Regions from separate parts of the Homo sapiens genome. Here region 2 is linked to region 1. The links are contacts of gene promoters, found by promoter capture Hi-C in blood cells and fetal thymus (Javierre and others, 2016). All regions are on one chromosome and are shown on one strand. Each heading gives the region's core, a stretch centred on a gene start or on the middle of the fragment in contact. The rest is flanking DNA. Distances are from core to core; before and after follow the strand shown.

Region 1 (5,268 bases), core at 1,645-4,144:
AAACGCCAGGTGCAGTGGCTCATGCCTGTAATCCCAACATTTTAGGAGGTGAAGGCAGGAGGATTGCTTGAATCCAGGTGTTTGAGACCAGCCTCGGCAACTTAGGAAGACCTTGTCTCTACAAATAATTTTAAATATTAGCTGGGCATGGTGGTGCACGACTGTGGTCGCAGCTACTCGGGAGGCTGAGGCAGGGGGATTGCCTGAGCCCAGGAGGTTGAGGCTGCAATGAGCTGTGATCATACTCCTGCACCCCAGCCTGGGTGATAGAGTGAGAGCCTGTTTCAAAAAGAAAAAAGCAGTGAAAAAAAAAATTTAAAGGCCAAAAATTTGTGTGGGAACCCAGAGATATACAAACAAACAAGAATGTAGTCAATAGAACGGGTTATAAAATGAAGACAGCAACTCACAAGGAATTCCCTTTGTGCCGATGAAGTCCCCAGGGGAGGGGAGCTGAAGAGTGGTTCCAAAAGTGACCTGAGCCCTGTTACCAGTGCAGGGTCGCAGCCATTCATTTCTCCAGTTAGCCAGGGAGCAAACAGAAATTGAATGCTGGGCATGGTAGAATCAGGGATGAATCCAGTTTATCAAGCAGAGAGATACTGGTAGAACAGGGACCCGAGGGTGGAGATAGGTGATGCACAGAAGAAATAGGGAGGCAGGGAAGAGAGTGTGTCAGTCGGAGGGAATGGGCAGCAGCACCAGAGGCTGCTGAGATGAGGACTGAGGGGGGACTGTTGCCACTGGAGAGACAGGAGGGTTGCTGGTAACCTTAGCCTGGAGCCAGAGGGGGGAGGGGTCATGCAAAGGGAGACCTCTCCCAGGCTAGTCAGACTCTGTGACTGTCTCTGAGGCTGTCTAGAGGCAGGGTGGAGAAGCCAAAAGTAATGGCAAGAGTCCATTGTCCTGTCCTTCCCTATAACAGGGAAGGGGGCCAGAGAGCCTCCACAAGCGGAACTGCTCCTAAATGACAAGACCACCCAACTGGGGCTCCATTTGCCACATTAGAGCAATGGAGGCCCCCAGACTGTTGCACCCCTCTTCCTACCCACAGCTCCTTCCTGCACCACTGGGGGCCTTGCATGCTTGTGGAAAATTGGAGAAATGCCTGTTTGCCAAAGCTCCCTCCACTTCCCTCCTCCTCCCCCCACCATAGCTACCCTTTTAAGTCAGCCCTGGGAGGATAAACTTAAAGAAGAGGCCTGCATAGGCCCTGGAATGAACTCAGGACATGTGGGCACATACTTTTGGGGTCCCATGTGCCTGGAGGCGAGGCACGGGGCACATCATCTTGGCCCTGTGATCTCTTACTCTGTGGGAAAGAGTGCGGGGGACAGCCAGAGATGGGCCTCTCAAGCACACAGTCCAGGGCAGGCGGCCCTGGCTTCTCAGCTCTCAGGACAGAAAAGGTCCTGGAAAGGACAAAAGAGAGAGCCAGGCCCAACCAAGAGAAGTAGAAGTGGAAGTAGCCCAGGTGTGTGGGCAAGCATGCTAGCACTCATCTCTGGAAGTGGGTTTCAGGATGTAAGGCAAGCAAACTCAGTGTGGAGTAGAAAGTGGTTGGTTGTATCACCTGTGAGCAAAAGCCATGGTGTGCAAATGACAACAGTCAATGTGATGTTATGCTGCTGCCCTGGACAAATGCAGTCCTCTTTTCCATCTCAGTGATGCTGTCATCACCCCCCTGATTGCACACACAGGATACCTGGGAGTCATTCTTGGTGCCTGTTTCTTACCTCCCATTATCCACCAGCAAGTCTTATCAATTCTACTTTTTGGATCTATCTCCAATCCAGTTCCCTCTCTCTCATCCAATCTCCCTTCATCTCTTTCCTAACTTCTGTGCTAGTTTCCTAACTGAACTTCCTGATGCCTCTTGCCTCTCCTGTCTATTCTCATAGCAATCAGAATGATCTTAGTAAAACAGAGCTGACCATGACATGCCCCAGCTTAAGACCCTTGATGAACCTCCTACTGCCCTCAAAATAAAGTCCAAATTCCCTATTGTGGCCTACCAACCCACTTATGATCTGGCCCTAACCTATCAGTGTCATTCCTCCACCCTCACACTCTTTAAGTTCCACTCCTCCTGAATTTCATTCCGTCCTTCCCACATTTTTAAATATTTTGTAAAGATGGGGTCTCCCTATGTTGCCCAGGCTGGTCTCAAACTCCTGGCTTCAAGTGATCCTCGTGCCTCAGCCTCCCAAAGTGTTGGGATTACAGGTGTGAGCCACCACACACACGCTCTTATTTAGGTACTTTTTTGTTTTTTGTCATTCTACTAACTGTAGTACTGCATTGTGGTTTTAATTTCCACTTCTTTGATGACTAATGATGTTCAGTCTACTCCTTCTTTGAAATCTCTGCTTGGTTTTCATTTGTTCCAAGAAGTAATCGCTCCTTCTACAGACTAAGTTCCTGTCCTCCTTTGTAGTTCCATGACAACCAATATTTATCTCCACCTTGGCCTTAACCCACTAAAGTACAGTTGTTTTACTTTTACCTCCACACCCACCGCCATCATCACAAACACACACATACACGACTGTGCACTTCCTGAAGGCAGAAGCAGCATCATACTTCTTTGGTATCTTCAGCAATCAGCACAGACCTGAAACACAATCTTTACACAATAAATATGATGAGTGAATGAACAGTTGCTTAACAAATTAAAGAATGGATGAAGGTAGGTAGTTAGGTACAAGGTTTTGCAGATAGGCCTGGCTGTGTCAATTAAACCTTTCTTCATGGGTCCTCACACTTAGTAAGCTCACTTTTAAAAGGACAATGCTGAAGACACAAATGTTTACAATGACCACAGCGATGACGGGATCCGAGAGAAAGGCAAGGCGGAAGGGGTGAGGCCGGAAGCCGAAGTGCCGCAGGGAGTTAGCGGCGTCTCGGTTGCCATGGAGACCAGGAGCTCCAAAACGCGGAGGTCTTTAGCGTCCCGGACCAACGAGTGCCAGGGGACAATGTGGGCGCCAACTTCGCCACCAGCCGGGTCCAGCAGCCCCAGCCAGCCCACCTGGAAGTCCTCCTTGTATTCCTCCCTCGCCTACTCTGAGGCCTTCCACTACAGCTTCGCAGCCCGGCCCCGCCGCCTCACGCAGCTTGCGCTGGCGCAGCGTCCCGAGCCTCAGCTGCTTCGTCTGCGCCCCTCCTCGCTGCGCACCCAAGATATCTCGCACTTGCTCACCGGCGTCTTCCGCAACTTGTACTCAGCCGAGGTCATCGGCGACGAAGTGAGCGCAAGCTTGATCAAGGCCCGCGGCAGCGAGAATGAGCGCCACGAGGAGTTCGTGGACCAGCTGCAGCAGGTAACGTGGCGGTGGCGTCGCGTCTGCGGACGGTGCCGGGGTCTCAGCGCTCGGCACGCGTCAGCACCTGCCAGGTGCCAGGCGCTGTTCCAGGATCTGGGGCTGCAGTTGAGAAACAGCCCATCATGCCGAAGTGGGCCCGACATTCTAGTGGAAGGACGCTCTATCCATACACACACATGCGCAAATACCACACATACCACACAACGTGCGGCATATATCTGTAGCACCTGTCTATATTTCTCTAGACACATACGTTATATATTGCATATATCAATGAACGACTGCGGCAGACCGCTGAATAGTTGTTCCATGGAGAGGATAAAGCCAAAAGTCACCCGGCTTTGGGGTGCCTTTGTATCACAAACCACAATCTTGACTGGGCCATTCATGCGCAGATTTTAGGAAGCGTGTCTAGCCTCTAGAACAGCAACTCTGCTTCCTCATCTGTACAAGGAGAAAACCAGCTGACTCGCGGCCTCTGTGCTGAGTCGGCCTCTGCTGGCCACACTACTGAAGACTCCCTTAAACTTGTGGGCACTCCTCCCATACCCGATCCTTTACCCCGGTGTGCTTCCTGCCTCTCAGATCTTCTTCTTCTCCTTTCTGTTCTGTCCTCTACCTGCCCCTTAAGTGACATGCATCCCACGTCGTTAGCTTCAGTCATTCCTTCACTTAACACATTTGTTGAATGTCTGCTGGGTGTCATACTCTGTTCTAGGCAGTGGGGATTCAGCAGTGAATAAAAACGCCAGTGTTCGGGCACACCCACACTCACACACGCAACCTGTCCTCTGTAGCTTTCAACCTAACTGAGGTAGATAGACATTAACAAAATGAATACCTATACAGTATGTGAGATACTTACAGGACCAGTCTCGCCGCCTCCACGGGTTATAGGCTTCTTAAAGTGCAGCCAGAGCCCCTGGCTGGGATCCTGTACTCTGTGATTCGTGGGTCACCACATTCACTCTGCTAAGACTTCAGCCTACCCAGCCAGACCTTGCCCTTGAACTTCAGACTCACATCCCTGTCATTCACATGAGCCAGAATATATGGAGCATTATAAACCTATAAACCCCATGACCAGTCACCCAGTTCACTGGATTCTATCTTCTCAGTATCTGTCCCATAAGTAGCCACTATACCAGAGTCTGAATTGGCAAATAGTGATCCCTTTTTTTGAAGAAAAAAAGTAATACATATTACAAATTTTTTTTTTTGACAGAGTCTGGCTCTGTTGCCCAGGCTGGAGTGCAGTGATGTGATCACAGCTCACTGCAGCCTTAACATCAGGGGCTCAACTGATCCTCCCTCCTCAGCATCTGGAGTAGCTAGGACCACAGGTGTGCACCAGTATGCCCAGCTTATTTATTTATTTATTTATTTATTTGAGATGGAGTCTCACTCTGTCACCCAGGCTGGAGTGCATGGCGCAATCTCAGCTCACTGCAAGCTCCACCTCCCACATTCATGCCATTCTCCTGCCTCAGCCTTCTGAGTAGCTGGCGCCTGCCACCACACCTGGCTAATTTTTTTGTATTTTTAGTAGAGACAGGGTTTCACTGTGTTAGCCAGGATGGTCTCGATCTCCTGACCTCGTGATCTGCCCACCTTGGCCTCCCAAAGTGTTGGGATTACAGGCATGAGCCACCACATCTGGCCTAAATTTTTATTTTTTAAAAATTGTGAGATGGGGTCCCACTATGTTGCCCAGGCTGGTCTCAAATTTCTGGCCTCAATTGATCCTTCCACCTCAGCCTCTCCAGATGCCGGTATTACAGGTGTGAGCCACTGTGCCTGGCCCACATTATAAAAATCTTAATTTAGAAGCTGAAATTTAATTTAAACATTTGAAGTTTTAAAATTGCAGAAATTTCAGAATGCAGAAAAGTTTAAAGAGTGATCCCCTATAGAAATACAACTATGCGGCCGGGCGTGGTGG
Region 2 (5,352 bases), core at 1,813-4,312, 410 kb after region 1:
TATTGCAACAGTCCAGATATAAGACAATGTTGCAGTAGTGTACATGGAAAAAAGTAGTCGGATGGTGGATACACTTTTGAGGCTATTTTGCTGATGGACTGTATATGGGAGGAATCAAGTATTGTTACCGAAACACCAGGGGTTTGGTCTAGGTCCTGCTGCTCGGTGCACAGAAAGCCAATCACTGAGATGACAAGTATTGCCAAGGAAGAAGGCTTTAATCAGGTGCTGCAGCCAAGGAGATGGGAGTGCAGTCTCAAATCCATCTCCTTGACTGACCAAAACCAAGGGTTTATATAGCAGGAAAGAAATGTAACAATATGTAAGAAAACAGGAACATGGGAGGGGCAAGGAAGCAATCATGGTGACTGAGGGGCCCAGCATCTAGTGCAGTGATCTGGTTTCAGTTCTTTTGATACTTTTTATGGCTTCAGTTCTTTGATACTTTTTGTGAGAGGCCTGAAGGTCCTTTCCTGAGGAAGGAACTCGGATAAAACAAGTAAGTTTCCAGCTTTAACTGCAAAAGGGTCAACTTCTATAATCCCAGCACTTTGGGAGGCTGAGGCAGGCAGGTCACCTGAAGTTGGGAGTTCAAGACCAGCCTGGCCAACATGATGAAACCCTGTATCTACTAAAAATACAAAACTTAGCTGGGCATGGTGGCGTGCCTGTAATTCCAGCTACTTGGGAGGCTGCGGCAGGAGAATCACTTGAACTCAGGAGGTGGAGGTCGCAGTGAGCCGAGATCGTGCCACTGCACTCCAGTGAGGGCAATAAGAGCCAAACTCTGTCTCAAAAACAAAAACAAAAACAAAAACAAAAACAACTGTCTATGGGACTCTTTGGCTGGTTTCAGTAGGACTCATAAGGTTCTGATTTGAGCAATGGTGTAGTTGCTTATGCCATTGATTCAGACAGGGAAAACTGGGGAGGAGATTTACGGGGAAAATGAGGACTTCTGCTTTGGCTAGGTCAAATTTGAGATGCCTGATAGGCTACCAACTGCAGTTGTCAAGTAAGCAGTTGGATATAAATTTGGGGTTCCCAGACAGGTCAGAGTGGAAGACACAGATATTTGGGCAGCTTGGACCACTCTGAGTCCTTATTATGATACCTGACCTGGTATGGAGTAGAAGAGAGGAACCAGCCAATCTAATTTTTGGCACATGGATAAAAGTCGATACCTTTCAGTCCATATTGGAATGGAGATAACGATTTATACTCCCTAGAAAAGACACTTAAACTGGATATGGAATTACTTCCGTTATCACAGTCTATCACTGTGGCCTCCTGTGTTATTACCAGATACCTTATACACAGCTAGGGTGTCCCATACAACACTGCTTCTTGCTTGGCACACAGTCGCATAGTATTCAATCCTGTGTTAAATGGCTTAGATAATAAGTCACCTGTAGGGATTATAGCAAGCAGGGACCATCATTTTCACATAGAATTTCCCAGGACTGGAAGGGACTTTTAAAGACCCAGAAATCTTTCTGGGCAGTGCCTCCAAAGTGTGGCCCCTGAGGTGTTCCTGCTGCTCTGGTGACCGGGGGTAGTTGACCCTATTTCAATGTCAATCAGAACAATATACATTCCTTTATAAACTTGTTTTTTTTTTGAGAGAGAGTCTCACTCTGTCACCTAGGATGGAGTGCAGTGGTGCAATCTCAGCTCACTGCAACCTCCGCCTCCCTCCTGTGTTCAAGCGATTCTCCTGCCTCAGCCTCCTACCGAGTAGTTGGAATTACAGGTGTGTGTCACCATGCCCAGCTAATTTTTGTATTATTTAGTAGAGACAGGTTTTTGCCATGTTGGTCAGGCTGGTCTCGAACTCCTGACCTCAAGAGCCTCCTGGGCCTCTAAAAGTGCTGGAATTACAGGTTTGAGCCACCTCGCCCTGCCTATAGTGAACATTTACATAATATTTTGTTTGACTAGGTTTCTGCCATTAAGAAGATGCAAAACCCTGAGGGAGTGTACCTCTTCACTTTGCATATGGGAAAACTGAGGCTCAGAGAAGTGAAATGACTGAGACCTCCAGGTGCCACCTCCCTTTCAGCTGCTCCTGCCCTGCTCCAAGCAAGGATGTGCCAAGTCAAGAGAAGACAGAGGACAATTAATGTTATCTGAGGATCTCGGAGCCTCATCCCTGAGCTATGATGGTCTTTCCCTCCTTAGTTGGGAGCCCCATCACGTTCCTCCGAAGCTCTAGTTGTGTGATAAGGAGGGTGGAATCTGAGACAGAGAACGATGGCCCTCCAAGGAGGGAGTTCGGGGTGAGGAAAACAGCAAAACCATGTGCTAGACAAGATCTTCAACTGCAGGGCTCTGGAGGCAACTGGGAAGTTTTGAAAGTGCAGATTGAAGCTCAGGGCCGCTGTGGGTGGCGCAGGAACTGCAGAAGACAAGATAGGATTAGGGAGGGCCAGCAGGTTGCCAGAGGCCCTTTTCCACCTGCTGGGCTTAGAGGGGCGGGACTCTGCCCGCTCCCTCACTTGGTTGGGTTTAAATGACCACTCCCCGCCCTAGCTGTGCCTTTGAGTGTGTGGCAAGGGATTGCAGACGGGAGACTGCTTGTCAATTCAGGGAAGTCAGCCTCTTTCTGCCACTTAATTCGCCCATCAGTAGAGATCCGACTTTCCCACGGTTCACTGTCACCCCCATTGCACAGGTGGGGAATCCAAGGCACAGAGGCGTCTGGGCCAGAGTCCCGGGACTATCCACTCATTCCGGGGTTGTAGGGCAGCATGTGTCAGGAGCTTGGGCTCGAGCGTGCGGGGCACTAATTGCGAGTGCAGTGGCCACAGGCTCCCGGGCAAAGTGGTCAGGAGCCCATTCCCGCCACCTCCGTCCGCGCGCCCCGCCCTGTCCTCCAGCAAGTTGGTGCACGCGCGTCCTCCCACAGGGCGCGGGATGGGGGCGGGGCCTCCGTGTTGTTGTTTCTCTGGGGCCCCGCCCCTCAGGGGGGCGCGGACCACGCGGCCGGAGGGCCCGCCTCCCCTCCCCCTCCCCGCCCAGCCCGCCCGCCTCTTTGTATCCAACATCCGGGTTTCCCCGCTGGCTCGGCTCCGTGGCCGCCGCTCAGGAGCCATTTTGGACTCGGTTCAGCTCCCCTCCCCCCCACCCCTCCCCCCGTTCATGGCCCCTCCGGACTCGGCCCCTGCGCCCGGGGCCCGGGCCCAGCCCCGCCGCGCTATGCCTGAGTCGGGCGCGCCCCGGCCCGTGCCCCGCCGCCGCCCCCCGGCCCCCGCGTCGCCCCGGAGCCCGGGCCGCAGCCTGCGCCGCCCGCAGCGGCCCTGAGCCCGGCCCCGCCGACCGGCCCTTGGAGCCCGAACGCTGCTCGGGGACGAAGGCGCAGGAAGCGCGCAGGGAACGAGACCGAAGGAAGGAGCGGGAAGGAGAGCGCAGCCGCCGCCTGGCCCTGCGCGCCCCGGGAGCGCCGTGCGGCCCTGCCCGCGGGCTCCGGGTGTGCGCGGGGCGGCGCCGCGGAACATGACGGCGCCCTGGGTGGCCCTCGCCCTCCTCTGGGGATCGCTGTGCGCCGGTAAGAACTGGGCGCGGCGCGGGGACGCCGAGAGGGCGCGCGGGGCTGGCCTCTGGCGCCGCGCGGTGTTTACCAACAAAGGGCGGGCCCGGGGCCTCGTCGCCGCACCACCTGTATTCAGCCCTCACCTCCGGGGGCGTGGGCTGGGGGCGCGGTGGGCGCCCGGCTCGCCGAACTTGGGGGCACGATCTTGTCTGTGCAGTCATCTGCGGGATTCTGGTTCCTAGAGGCGCCCCTGCGATGGGGGCCGGGACGCGGAGCCTCAGGGTCGGAGTTCGGGCTACGCGGGCGCGTGGAACCCAGGGAAAGAGTGAGGAAAACCTGAGCGTGGGGAAGGCGGCCAAGAGGGGTGGGCAGATCTCATTGGGGGTGGCAGGATTGTAGGTGCAGCAGCAGCAGCAGCATGCGGGGAGGGTTGCATGTCCCTCAGAGTCACTAAGTGTAGCGAAGCGAAGGGGGCGGCTTCACGCAGCCCAAAGTCCCCTGCATCTCTTGCCACCAGTCTGCGTCGCGTTACCGGCCCGGCGGGCTGTTGGTGCTGGCTCCCACCTGCTCCCTCTTTCCCTGCCGTTGGCCCCGGGATGCGGAGTGTGGTCGCTTCGCGGGACCGCTTTGTTTGGGCACTTGGGAGGGGAGGGGGTGGGTAAGATGGAAAACCCAACAGGTCCCTCTTCCTTCGGGCCTCCAGGAGGCACGTGGCGGGGTGGGTGACCAGCGCTCAGCTCGCCCGCGGCTGCGGGCGTGTGGCTGGAGGTGTTCGGCCAGCGCATGTGTGTTTGGGGGTATGTGGGCGCGGGCGTAAACAAGCGGAGTTCCGCCTGGAAAGCTTGTTTCTCCTACGGTCCAAGCACCGATTTCCCTCTCTCAGTGGTGCCGGGGTGCGCCTAACCCCGGCGGGCGCGCCGGGACGTCCCCTGGCCAGTCCTGGGAAACGTGGGGAGCTGGGCATTGAAGCTCTGGCGAGAAGGTCGGGGCGGCTGGTACCCGGCCGCCGGGTCCTGCGCGTCTTTGTTCCCAGCCCCCATTACACATGCAGCGCGGGTCCCCCGCCGCCCTCGGTGGCAGCCGCCTGGAGTCTGGGAAACCCTCGAGGGGCGGGGCCGGGCGTGCAGGGGCGGGGCCGGAGTCCCCACGCTGCTGCGGGGGTGGGGATTTGGGATCTGCGTCCCATTCCCACCCTGGTTCTACCTTCTCCTGTGCGTCGTCGTGAGGCTTAGTTTACACCGAAAGCGAGTGAGTTCTGTAGGGTAGTAGCGCGCGCGCGCGCAGCCTGAGTCCGGAAACCGAAGGGCAAAGACCAGCTGGCACCTGAGTACCGTATGGAAGAGGGCGTTGCAGCTCTCCTGGAGCCGCTTCTTGGAGGCGAAGTGGTGGTCGTGTTGGACTTTCTGCTCTTTTTTGCCCCGCTCCCTTGGGATGCCTTTTCCCCAAGAAGGAGTGCTCGAAAGTGAAAGGGGAGGCATTGGTCTGCTAGAGGGAGGGCGGCAGCAAGCTGACTTGATAGGCAGACCGCAGCCCACCTGACTGCCTCCAGACCCGCTGGGTGCCTGATCCCTGGAAGTGCTGGGGCTCTTCCAAGCCCAGGCCTTTAGGAGAGCTTCCTCCCAAGACAGGACAGCTTGAGACCTGGGATCTGGGGATCACACCAGTCTCACACCTCCCTCCTTAGGCAGGGCAGGGCGGCATCAGACCCCTGGAAGGACTGTATGTCCTTTCTTTTTCCTCTGCTTCAGTCACCTAGCTTGGGCAGTGCTGAGCAGTGTACCCTGCCAGGGGGCAGTCAGAGTCACACTATAAGGACCTGT

Evidence for each region. The method cuts DNA at HindIII sites, captures the fragments that hold promoters and counts their contacts. A CHiCAGO score of 5 or more calls a contact.
Region 2: the fragment with the promoter of ACVR2B here is called in contact with the fragment with the promoter of DLEC1 in region 1 in 1 of 17 cell types (fetal thymus); the score reaches 6.1 in fetal thymus.

The regions. Positions count from the first base shown.
Region 1 is chr3:38,036,314-38,041,581 of GRCh38, forward strand. DLEC1 (DLEC1 cilia and flagella associated protein) reads left to right here and starts at 2,895. Exons shown (of 37, transcript NM_007335.4): 1 at 2,895-3,323. The coding sequence starts at 2,913. RefSeq lists enhancers at 2,960-3,169, 3,460-3,689. The HindIII fragment of the contact is 3,706 bases long and covers 1-3,257 here.
Region 2 is chr3:38,450,828-38,456,179 of GRCh38, forward strand. It overlaps ACVR2B (activin A receptor type 2B), which reads left to right and starts at 3,063. Exons shown (of 11, transcript NM_001106.4): 1 at 3,063-3,547. The coding sequence starts at 3,496. It overlaps ACVR2B-AS1 (ACVR2B antisense RNA 1), which reads right to left and starts at 3,993. Exons shown (of 2, transcript NR_028389.1): 1 at 3,676-3,993; 2 at 200-2,398. It also overlaps a transcript of XYLB not described here. RefSeq lists enhancers at 2,645-3,144, 3,749-4,332, 4,333-4,917 and silencers at 2,863-2,912, 2,923-3,042, 3,463-3,742, 4,553-4,732. The HindIII fragment of the contact is 9,112 bases long and covers 1-4,371 here.